2 separate regions of the Homo sapiens genome follow, and region 1 is linked to region 2. The links are contacts of gene promoters, found by promoter capture Hi-C in blood cells and fetal thymus (Javierre and others, 2016). All regions are on one chromosome and are shown on one strand. The core of a region is centred on a gene start or on the middle of the fragment in contact, and the rest is flanking DNA. Distances in the headings are between cores, read along the strand shown.

Region 1 (5,166 bases), core at 520-3,019, 1.6 Mb before region 2:
CCTACAGGATAATATGGAGTGCTAAGTAAAATCCTTTAACCTATTCCAGAACACTTACTCTACACTGGCAAGGTCATCCCCGGCTTTCAATTACACACTGCAATTATCTAAGGGGAAAACTGAGTCACGTCTAGTAAGTTCCCTATAGAGGCAGTCCATGGAGTAAAAAGTCAAACAACAGGGACTTCGCCAACTTTTAAGGTTGAACTGTAACAGCTCAAGACACACACACACACAGTATTTAAGACATAGTTTTATCTCTTAGCTACACACTCTCCAAATATGTCAGAATATGAACAGGAACAGGGCATACCTGTACTTGGTGAACTGGCACCCTTCATAATAAATCCAACAATTTAATTTTTAGCTCCACATTTATTCAGAAATTAAATGAATCTCTTTAGGAGATTAATGATAAGTACTAACTTTAATAATGAAGAGAAACAAACTCAACACACCAAATACTCATGAAAAAATAATTTGAGAGCTCACCTTTCCACAACCAAACTGACCACTTGTGTGAGATCTGGGTTTGTAACCTGGAGACGTTTCCACAAAGACCATACAAATTCTTTATCAGCCTTAAAGAAATAAAAGAGAATTTAGATGCATTGCTTTGTAGTGGTAGTGAAATAAGATACTACATTAAATTTTAAAATGAAAAAACAATTACTTGATCCCTAGTTGTATAACTACATCAACTGATTCTCTTTAAAGGAATGGGGTAAAACTTTATTTTAAAAAGTTATTACACAGATAATCCATATTCACTTTTACTATTTCTATCACCTATATTTTGGGATGCAACTGTTGAAATGCTAAATATCTAGTTAAACTTGCTCTAAAAGGAAACTTCCCTCCCTGCTGCCCCATTTTCAGCTCCGCTTTTATCAAAACTCCTTGAAAGAGTTGCCTGTAATTACTATGTCTGTTTCCTATCTCCCATTCACTCTATAATGCTTCCTAGTAAGATTTTCCTAACCACCATTATGCTAAAATCATTATTCAAGGTCCTCTATATTGCCAAATCCAAAGGACAATGGGTAGTTTCAGTCCTTATTACCTAGGTTAGTTGTTATTAACCTTGGCTGACAGGTATCTCTTTTGAGGAGCTTTTAAAAAATAGGGATGAATTAGAGATTCTGATTAATTGGCCTTAGGTTAGAGCCAAGCATCAGTATGTTTTAAAAGTGCCTCGAGTGAATCTGTGCACTCTGGGTTGAGAACCACTGCCCTAGGTGACCTCATATCAGGCCCATGATTTTAAGTACCAACTCTACACTGAGACTCGCACATTTCTATCTAGAGCCATTTCCTCTACTCTTAGGTCCAGACTTACATCTCCAACTGCATATTCAATAATTCCACTTGAAAATCTAATAGATATCTTAAATTTAACTTGTTCAAAAAAAAATTATTGGTTCCTTACCCTCTCACAAATCTGCCCCTCTCCCTCCCAGAAATTGATACTGCCATCTATTCATTTATTCAAAGATCTAAAACAGTGGTGTCCAATCTTTTGGCTTCCCTGGGCCACAGTGGAAGAAGAATTATTATCTTAGGCCATATATAAAATACACTAACACTAACAATAGTTAATGAGCTAAAAAAAATTGCAAAATAAATCTCATAATGTTTTAAGAAAGTTTAAGAATTTGTGTTAGGCCGCATTCAAAGCCATCCTGGGCTGCATGCGGCCCACCTATGAGCCGGGTGTTAGGGTTAGGTTGATCTAAAACTTAGGAGTCAATCTTGTTTATTCTTCTTTTTTTTTTTTTTTTTTTTCTGAGACAGAGTCTTGCTCTGTCGCCCAGGCTGGAGTGCAGTGGCGCAATCTCGGCTCACTGCAACCTCTGCCTCCCAGGTTCAAGTGATTCTTCTGCCTCAGCCTCCTGAGTAGCTGGAACTACAGGCACGCACCACCACACCCAGCTAATTTTTGTATTTTTAGTAGAGACAGGGTTTCACCATATTGGCCAGGCTGGTCTCGAACTCCTGACCTCATGATCTACCTGCCTCGGCCTCCCAAAGTGCTGGGATTACAGGCATGAGCCACCGTGCCCAGCCAATCTTGGTTATTCTTTTCTCCTCATACTTCATATCCAAATCATCAATAAACCCTACTGTCCTTATCTACATGATAGGCAAATTCTGACCACTCTCACCACTTCTACCACTATCGCCCTAGTCCAAGTCAATTCCGTCTCTTGCCCAGCTATGTATCATGGTCTCATAGCCTTACAACTCAAAACTCTCCAGTGAGTTTCCATTAAATTAGGAAACTAATCCAAACTCTGTGTCAAGGCTACAAGACTCCATATGGCCTGGCCCATATACACCTCCCCAACCTCATCTGTCACTTTCCTCCTTGTTCACACAGACTTTCTTACTCTACTTGCTCTACTTGAACCAGGGCCAATGCACATACTGCATCATCCATCACACTTTCACATAGAGTATTCCCTCACTTCATTCAAGCCTTTTCTTAAATAATATCTCAAGTGAATTCTCCCCTGACTACTATCACAGCCACCAAAACCCCAAGTCTCTAGCAACCCCTTTTCCAGTTACAATTTTTTTTCACAGCACATTTCATTTAATAATCCTGTATGTTTAGTGATTTGGTTTTACTTGTGTGGCAGATATCTCAATTTCTGTCTCCGTCATCCATTCTCTCTTTTTAGTTACAGAAACAATTCTGCCCAAGTAACAGACCAACCTCCCTTGCCTTATGGGTTATATGACTAAGTTCTGTCAATGAAATATAAGTGCTGTTGGAAACTTAAAGGAAATCTTAAAATTAGACTTGTGTCTACCCATTGTTAGAAATATTCTTCCCAGTCTGTTGCTGCTTATTTATGATGATTTTTTTGAAAAAGCAAGTTATTAATTTTACATACTCAAATGTATCCATCTTTTCAATTATGGCTTATGGATTTTATGTACCAGTTAGAAAAGCCTTCTCTATTCCAAGATTAGAAATATATTTACCCATTTCTTCTTCTGGAATTTTTGTTTTTTAATATTTTTTAATCAACAAATAAAAATTGCATATATTTATGGCATACAACATAATGTTTTATGTATACATTTTAGAATGGTTAAATCAAGCTAATTAACATAACCATTAGGGCGAGCACAGTGGGTCACATCTGTAATCACTTTGGGAGGCCAAGATGGGAGGGGATCATCTGAGCCCAGGAGTTTGAGACTGGCCTGGGCAACATAGTGAGACCCCCATCGCCACAAAAAACTTAAAAATTAGCTAGCCATAGTGGAATACGCCTGTAGTTCCAGCTACTCAGGAGACTGAGGGTGGGACGATTGCTGAGCCCGGGAGGTCAAGGCTAGAATGAGCCATGATCATGAAACCATACAGCCTGGGCAATAGACCAAGACCCTATCTCAAAAAACAAAGAAAAAAACATAACCATTACCTCATACACCCACCATTTTTTTGTGATGAGAGCACTTAAAATCTATTCTCTTAGTAATTTTCAAGTGCACAATCTATTGTTATTAACTATAACACCATGCTGTACAGTAAGTCTGGTGATATGAAAAACAGTAAATTCTTTTGTGAACAATAAAATGTTACAAATGGATTGTGGAACTATGTTATATATGAATTTTGTGAGTTTTTCAGTTATTTAAATGCTATACTATGGTCAATTTGGATTACACCTAGAATTACTAAAAAAACTTTCATATACAAAAAATAAAGTCCCCCCCCGAAAAAACACAGAACTAGTTTCCAAACTGTTCCAGACATTAATACAAGGAAACTATTATCAATCACTCATATTCTCTTTATATTTTCCCTTCCTTCAGGCACTTAAAGATGTTCTTTTTAAATAACAAAAATAAAAACCTTGGCCAGGTGCGGTAGCTCACCCCTATAAGGCTGAGATGGACAAATGGCTTAAGTCCAGACGTTCGAGACCAACCTGGGCAACACAGGGAGACAGAGACCCCATCTCTACAAAAAATGCAAAACTTAGCCTAGTGTGGTGGCACACACCTGTAGTCCTAGCTACTCTGGAGGCTGAGGTGGGTGGATCCTTTGAGCCCAGGAGGTCAACGCTGCAATGAGCCATGATTGCACCACTGTACTCCAGCGTGGGTGACAGAGGGAGACTGTCACAAATAAAATGAAAACAAAAAATAAAAACCTAACATTACTCACTATAAAATTCCTTTTTTTTTTTTGAGACAAAGTCTCACTCTGTTGCCCAGGCTGGAGTGCAGTGGCGCAACCTCAGTGCACTGCAACCTTCGCCTCCCAAGTTCAAGCAATTCTCCTGCCTCAGCTTCCCATGTAGCTGGGATTAATGGTGCATGCTGCCACACTCCGCTAATTTTTGTATTTTAGTAGAGACTGGGTTTCGCCATGTTGGCCAGGCTGGTCTCAAACTCCCAACCTCAAGTGATCCGCCCATCTCAGCCTCCCAAACTACTGTCATTATAAAATTCTTTATTCTCAGGCCAGGTGCAGTGGCTCACATCTGTAATCCCAGCACTTTGGGAGGCCAAGGCGGGCAGATCACAAGGTCAGGAGTTTGAGACCAGCCTGACCAACACGGTGAAACCCCGTCTCTACTAAAAATACAAAAATCAGCCAGGCGTGGTGGCATGAACCTGTAATCCCAGCTACTCAGGAGGCTGAGGCAGGACAATAGCTTGAACCAGGGAGGCAGAGGTTACAGTGAGCCCATATTGCACCACTGCACCCCAGCCTGGGCGACAGAGCGAGACTGCATCTAAAAATAAAAAATAAAAATAAAATAATAATTCTTTTTTCTCACTATAGAACTTCCAAACAGAATCAAATAATAATTTTTAAAAATTAAAAATAAAAATTCCTAATCATTTTCACAAAGTTTATTAAACTTGGGCTATGAAACAGTTGACTAAATACTAAATACTAGGTCTAAATTTCCCTGGAGGTGGATTGGTTTTGTCTTTCATCAACTGACCTGGAAATAGATACCATCTATACAAACACAGACACCCCAAATTGCCATTTTTCACTGGGTACCTAGTCCCACAAAAAATAATTTAGTGTTGGCAATATATTAAGCCCTCAATTGACCTCTACTGGAGGAATGAACTCAACAAACACTTGAAACTGTTTCCTAAATCTAAACAAATATTTGGTCATCAGAG
Region 2 (4,858 bases), core at 2,334-4,833:
AGAGATTGTTGCTAATTTTTTAGAATAAAGATCTCATTTAGAAAGATTTTCATTAAAATAGTTAAAATGAATGTATTTGTAGTGAATGAAAAATGTCACTGCTCTTAAAGGGTTAACCTTTAAGTACTGTACAAGAAAAATTCATAAAGTCAAAACAAAAACACTTCCATGTGTCATACTTACCTGTATTTTCATCCTAAAGGATTAATGAGTCTGTTGGGGTTTTTCACTTGCCCCTCCCTCTCATTCACTCAATAAATATTTTTGAAAAGGAATTTTTTTTTTGAGAGAGAGTCTCGCTCTGTCACCCTGGCTGGAGTGCAGTGGGGTGATCTTGGAACACTGCAACCTCCTCCTCCCAGGTTCAAGGGATTCTCCTGCCTCAGCCTCCTGAGAAGCTGGGATTAACAGGCGCACACCACCACACCCGGCTAATTTTTGTATTTTTAGTATAGACGGGGTTTCACCATGTTGGCCAGGCTGGTCTTGAACTCCTGACCTCGTGATCCACCTGCCCTGGCCTCCCAGAGTGCTGGGATTACGGGCATGAGCCACCGCGTCCGGCGCTTTTTTATTGAGTACCTGCACTGATGAATAAGATAGTGCCTACTTCTAAGCAGTTTACAGATTAGTAGGAAAGAGTGTAAATAAGAAACTATGTTACTCTAAGATTAGGTCACATCTTTTCCAGAGGTGATTTTTGGGTTGAGTTTTTTAGGACCAGAAGGAGTTAAACAGAATGGTCTCGTGCTGGGGACAAGCTGGGGAATGGCATGGTGTGGAGGGAGGTTGTTAGGAAATTTGAAGCTGGGAATACTTTCAAGCCCAAAGGTGGAAGGTGGAAGAGTAAGTACTGGGCTGCTTTTCCTTCCAGCATCTTTTCTAATTATAAGCCACTCCTCCTTCAGCCTTGCTGCCTCCCTGCCCCACCTAGAGGCGATGTGGGATCACAAAAATGGCATGGGCAAGTAGCCAGAGGGGCTAGAATGTTGCCTCAGCCCCTGGACTAGATGTGTGATCTTGGGCAAGCTAGCTGCTTACCTTCTGTGAGCTTATTTTCTCATCTGTGAAATGGGGATAGTGGCACTTGGGTTAAATGAGATAATGTAGGCCAAGTTCCTGCCTCAACTCATTTGGATTTTCCTGCCCCCTCCCCTTGCTTCAGTTGTTTTGGAAATTACACTCTTTCTCCTTATAACTTTCCCATTGCTCCTCTGATCTCCATTTTGGTATACTTTTTCAAGTATCCCCACTAAGAAGGCTGACTATGGGAGAGGGCTGCACCAAGCATAGCTGGAAAAGAGCACAGAAAAGCTCTCCCAAGTGGCTAGGATGTGCCCAGCTTTCCTTCCCCGTTCCCTGCCCTCCCCTCCCCTCCCCTCCCCCCCCCTTTCCTCGCAGATTCAGAACTGTTGCTCCCAGGGATCCTGGGCTTTTGTTCTCTGGAAGCTTAAACCACCACCTGTTTTGCCTTTATTGTTTAAAGGGTATCTCCTGTTGTTCACAAACTACCACAGGTTGAAGCGGACAAAACTTAAAGGCAGCAGGAGCTAAGTATGGTACTTCCTTTTTTTAAAACAACAAAAACAACAGAAAATACTAATAGTAAAACATCAATGCTTTTCCATTTTCCCTTTTTTATTTCTTTTCTGAGGTCCCCTCTAACACTAACTACCCCCTCTTTACCTGTTAATCCTACCATTAGTACTAATAAAAAGTTATCTTTAACGTTAATTATAACTTGTTATATATCTGTTTTTCTTAGTTTGAAGTTTTTACAGTCTGAGGTATCCTCTAAAGCAGTTTCTCAAACTTGAATATGCGTAAGAATCACCTAGGGATCCTGTTAAAACGCAGATTATGATTTAGAAGGCCTGGGGAAGGTCTGAGCTTTACCTGAGCTCCCAGGTAAAGCCCTTGCTGCTGGGCCTTGGACCACACTTGAAGTAGCAAGGCCTTACAGGGTTTAGAACAAATAAAGTGCATACACACAAAAAAATGATTGCTGGATGCTGCTTTGGTCTCTCTTACTCTGTATCTTGAGCTTTTCTTCAATACATCTTTTTCCACCTTTTCCTATGCATAATTTATAGCCAACACCTGACAATCATTCCTTTGTGTAATTACTTAGTTGTGCTCTTCCTTCCCTTTTCTTAGTCACCATTCTCACTGAGAAATGCGTCATTTCATGAGTACTCCAGTTACCCCCAGCCTCTTTCTACTAACATCTACCTTGAAACATCAAGAACTGGTTAAATAATCATTTTTACCCCCTTCTTGCTGAGCAACCTATAGTAGCTTCCTACTACACACATTAAATTCATATTCAGAATGAGAAGCTTCAAGACATTTCACCAACCCTTCCTTCTCCTCTGCCAATTTCTCTTTTTGCTCCACTTGGAACTCTCTGCATATTGCCCAGGTATACTTAGTTTCTCGAAACTCCTTACAGGACATTTTACTTTGGGACTGTCTTCTTTCATTCCTTTTTAAAGACATGCTGTATCGCTTTCAAAAAATTCTCAATTTTTACCAATTCAAAAAAAATTTCCTAATTCATTTCCAGTTGAGTCCCGTATTTAAAACAGTATTATCTAGGTGCTAATATATGTCTTATTATTCTTATTTTTATATGTCTTAACATTCTTTTTAAAAATATTTTCAGCCTCTCTAAAGGATCAAAAAATTAACCTTTAAAATCCCTTGAAGAGCATTTTAAGAGAGAAAATATTTGAGGTTTAGTAACACTTACACATTGTACCACCTACCAGCTCCTATTCTACTAGGGAAATAAAATTTAGATGCAGCTAAAATTTAGTTAGGGCCCAAACTCACATCCTATCTAAAAGGTTTCTGTTTTCCTGTCATTGTTTTCTACCCTTCGCATTTTGCATTCAGTAGGGTTGCATTTTTCTTAATAGTTCTTGGTGATGCAAATGCAAAAGAAATGAAATAGGGCTCTCTCATACTACAATTTCAAGGAAAAGGAGACTACGAGGCCCATTCAGCGAGGTGCAAGAGGCCTAGATGCAGCACACCCTGCAACCGCCGCATGCTCCAATTTCATCTTAGGGTTTTCGTACAGCTCCTCTTTTTTGGATGATGCAAACCGCGCAAAAGCAGCATTCAAACCTCCCCACCCTGGAAACGATACAAGAACATGAATCTTTACTGCCACTTTCTCCCTAACACGCAGCCAAGGGAGAGAGGCCCGGATACCCGCCCCCAAAACCGCGTCCACAACAATCATTTCCTCCCTCCCCGCCTTTTACATACAGTACACATACAAATACACACACGCAGAGAAGCCAGCAGGGGCGGGCCGGGCCCGACCACTCCGCAAACCGCAGGGGGAACTTGCGGCAGGCCGAGCTATTTTCGCCCAGTCCTTTCTTCTTCGCTTGCGTCTTCCTCTCCATCTGCATGCACCTGTTACATGAAAGCGAACTTGGGGACGTAGGGTTTCCAGAAAATCCGCTTCGGAGCCACACAGCTTCGCCGGGTGCTGCAACATCCCCCCTCTCTCGGTAAACAGTTGGTCGCGCCCCAGTGCTAGCGGGCGCCGAGCGGGAGCCGCGCGGGAGCAGCGCAGCTACGGCGGCGGCAGCGGCGGCGCGGTTGCGATTCCGAGCCGTTGAGACGCCTCTGCGGCAGCTGGTGGCGCAGGTGGCTTGCGTGGACGCGGGTAGAGGCGACCGGCCAGCAACCGCAGCGTCGGCGCCCGCGGCCCCGGCAGGTGAGCGGGCGACGGGGACTCGCCCCGCCCCCCCCTCGGTGGCGTCGCTCCTGGCTGTAGCGGGGAAGTGGACGCGGCCCGCCCGGGAGCCGAGGGGGCCGAGGCTGCAGCCGCTGGGCAGCAGGTTGCGGGGGAGGCCTTGCGTGGGCGGAAGGGGGCCGCTCGCTTCTCGGAATCCCTGCCTTTTTCTCTCCCATGCACCCCCTCCCTTTTGGGGCTTAAGCTCGGTGGAAAAAGCCCGGAGAAAGATGGGGCGGGCAGACGGGCGATTTCTGGCCGGGCAGCATCCCTGCTTCAGGTGGTGGCGTCTCTTCGGTGGCGGGGTGGAGGACCTGCTCCAGCGCGGAGGCAGCGCACTGGCGGGGGAGGAGCGGGAGGCGGCCGTCCCCTCGCTCTCCCACCCCCACCCGCCGGTTCCCCTCCCCCTCCCCTTGCGGCCCCTCCCTTCGGGGTTCTTCGCTTTAACCGCCCTCGGTGCTCTCCCTAGCAGGCGCGTCGGGACGCCCCGAGGCATCCTCCCCCGCCCGCGGGCCCGGTAGCTGGGCCCGCGTCCGCCGCCCGCATCCCCGCGCCGCCGCATCTCCTCGCCGCCTCCCGGGCTTCGGACCCCCGGTCTCGCCCCCGAAACATGACTCGCGATTTCAAACCTGGAGACCTCATCTTCGCCAAGATGAAAGGTTATCCCCATTGGCCAGCTCGAGTAAGTGATTTGTAGCCCTCGCGCTTAGCAGTGCTACCCTCCTCTCCAGAGGCCTGCTGCCCACCGTGTCTCTTTATTTTTTCTTCTGTCCTTTCTCTCCCTCGCTTTAGTCTCATTTGTAACCTGACCTTTCATTTTAGTTTTTTGCCCAATAATCTCCCGTGTAATTATGAAAATCCAGACGTTTCTACATACCTGTGTATTTCCCTATGGTTTATTGGCAGACTTGGACAGATTTTCTTCCTAGGAAATATTTAAATGCGTTGCTAGTTAATATTCCATTGTAGGTGAAATAATGAAGAGTGAATTTTTGTTTAAAAATTAGTGAAACATTGACATTTCCATAGTTTTGGATCAAGTACAAAATATCAATGGAATTTGTGCAGATTACACACAAACACTTGGATGTCAGAGAAGTGCGT

What was found. Contacts are between HindIII fragments. The CHiCAGO score rates a contact against its expected background, and 5 or more counts as called.
Region 1: a fragment that was not itself captured here is called in contact with the fragment with the promoter of PSIP1 in region 2 in 1 of 17 cell types (monocytes); the score reaches 6.7 in monocytes.

What each region holds. Positions count from the first base shown.
Region 1 is chr9:17,138,703-17,143,868 of GRCh38, reverse strand. It overlaps CNTLN (centlein), which reads right to left. Exons shown (of 26, transcript NM_017738.4): 2 at 493-581. Among named protein-coding and RNA genes, the nearest start is that of CNTLN, 6.2 kb to the right of the region's middle. The HindIII fragment of the contact is 7,594 bases long and covers 1-5,166 here.
Region 2 is chr9:15,509,695-15,514,552 of GRCh38, reverse strand. PSIP1 (PC4 and SRSF1 interacting protein 1) reads left to right here and starts at 3,583. Exons shown (of 16, transcript NM_033222.5): 1 at 3,583-3,736; 2 at 4,224-4,436. The coding sequence starts at 4,365. RefSeq lists enhancers at 1,293-1,911, 2,564-3,516, 3,517-4,470 and silencers at 3,598-3,677, 3,698-3,907, 3,918-3,977, 4,108-4,157, 4,258-4,457. The HindIII fragment of the contact is 3,241 bases long and covers 2,342-4,858 here.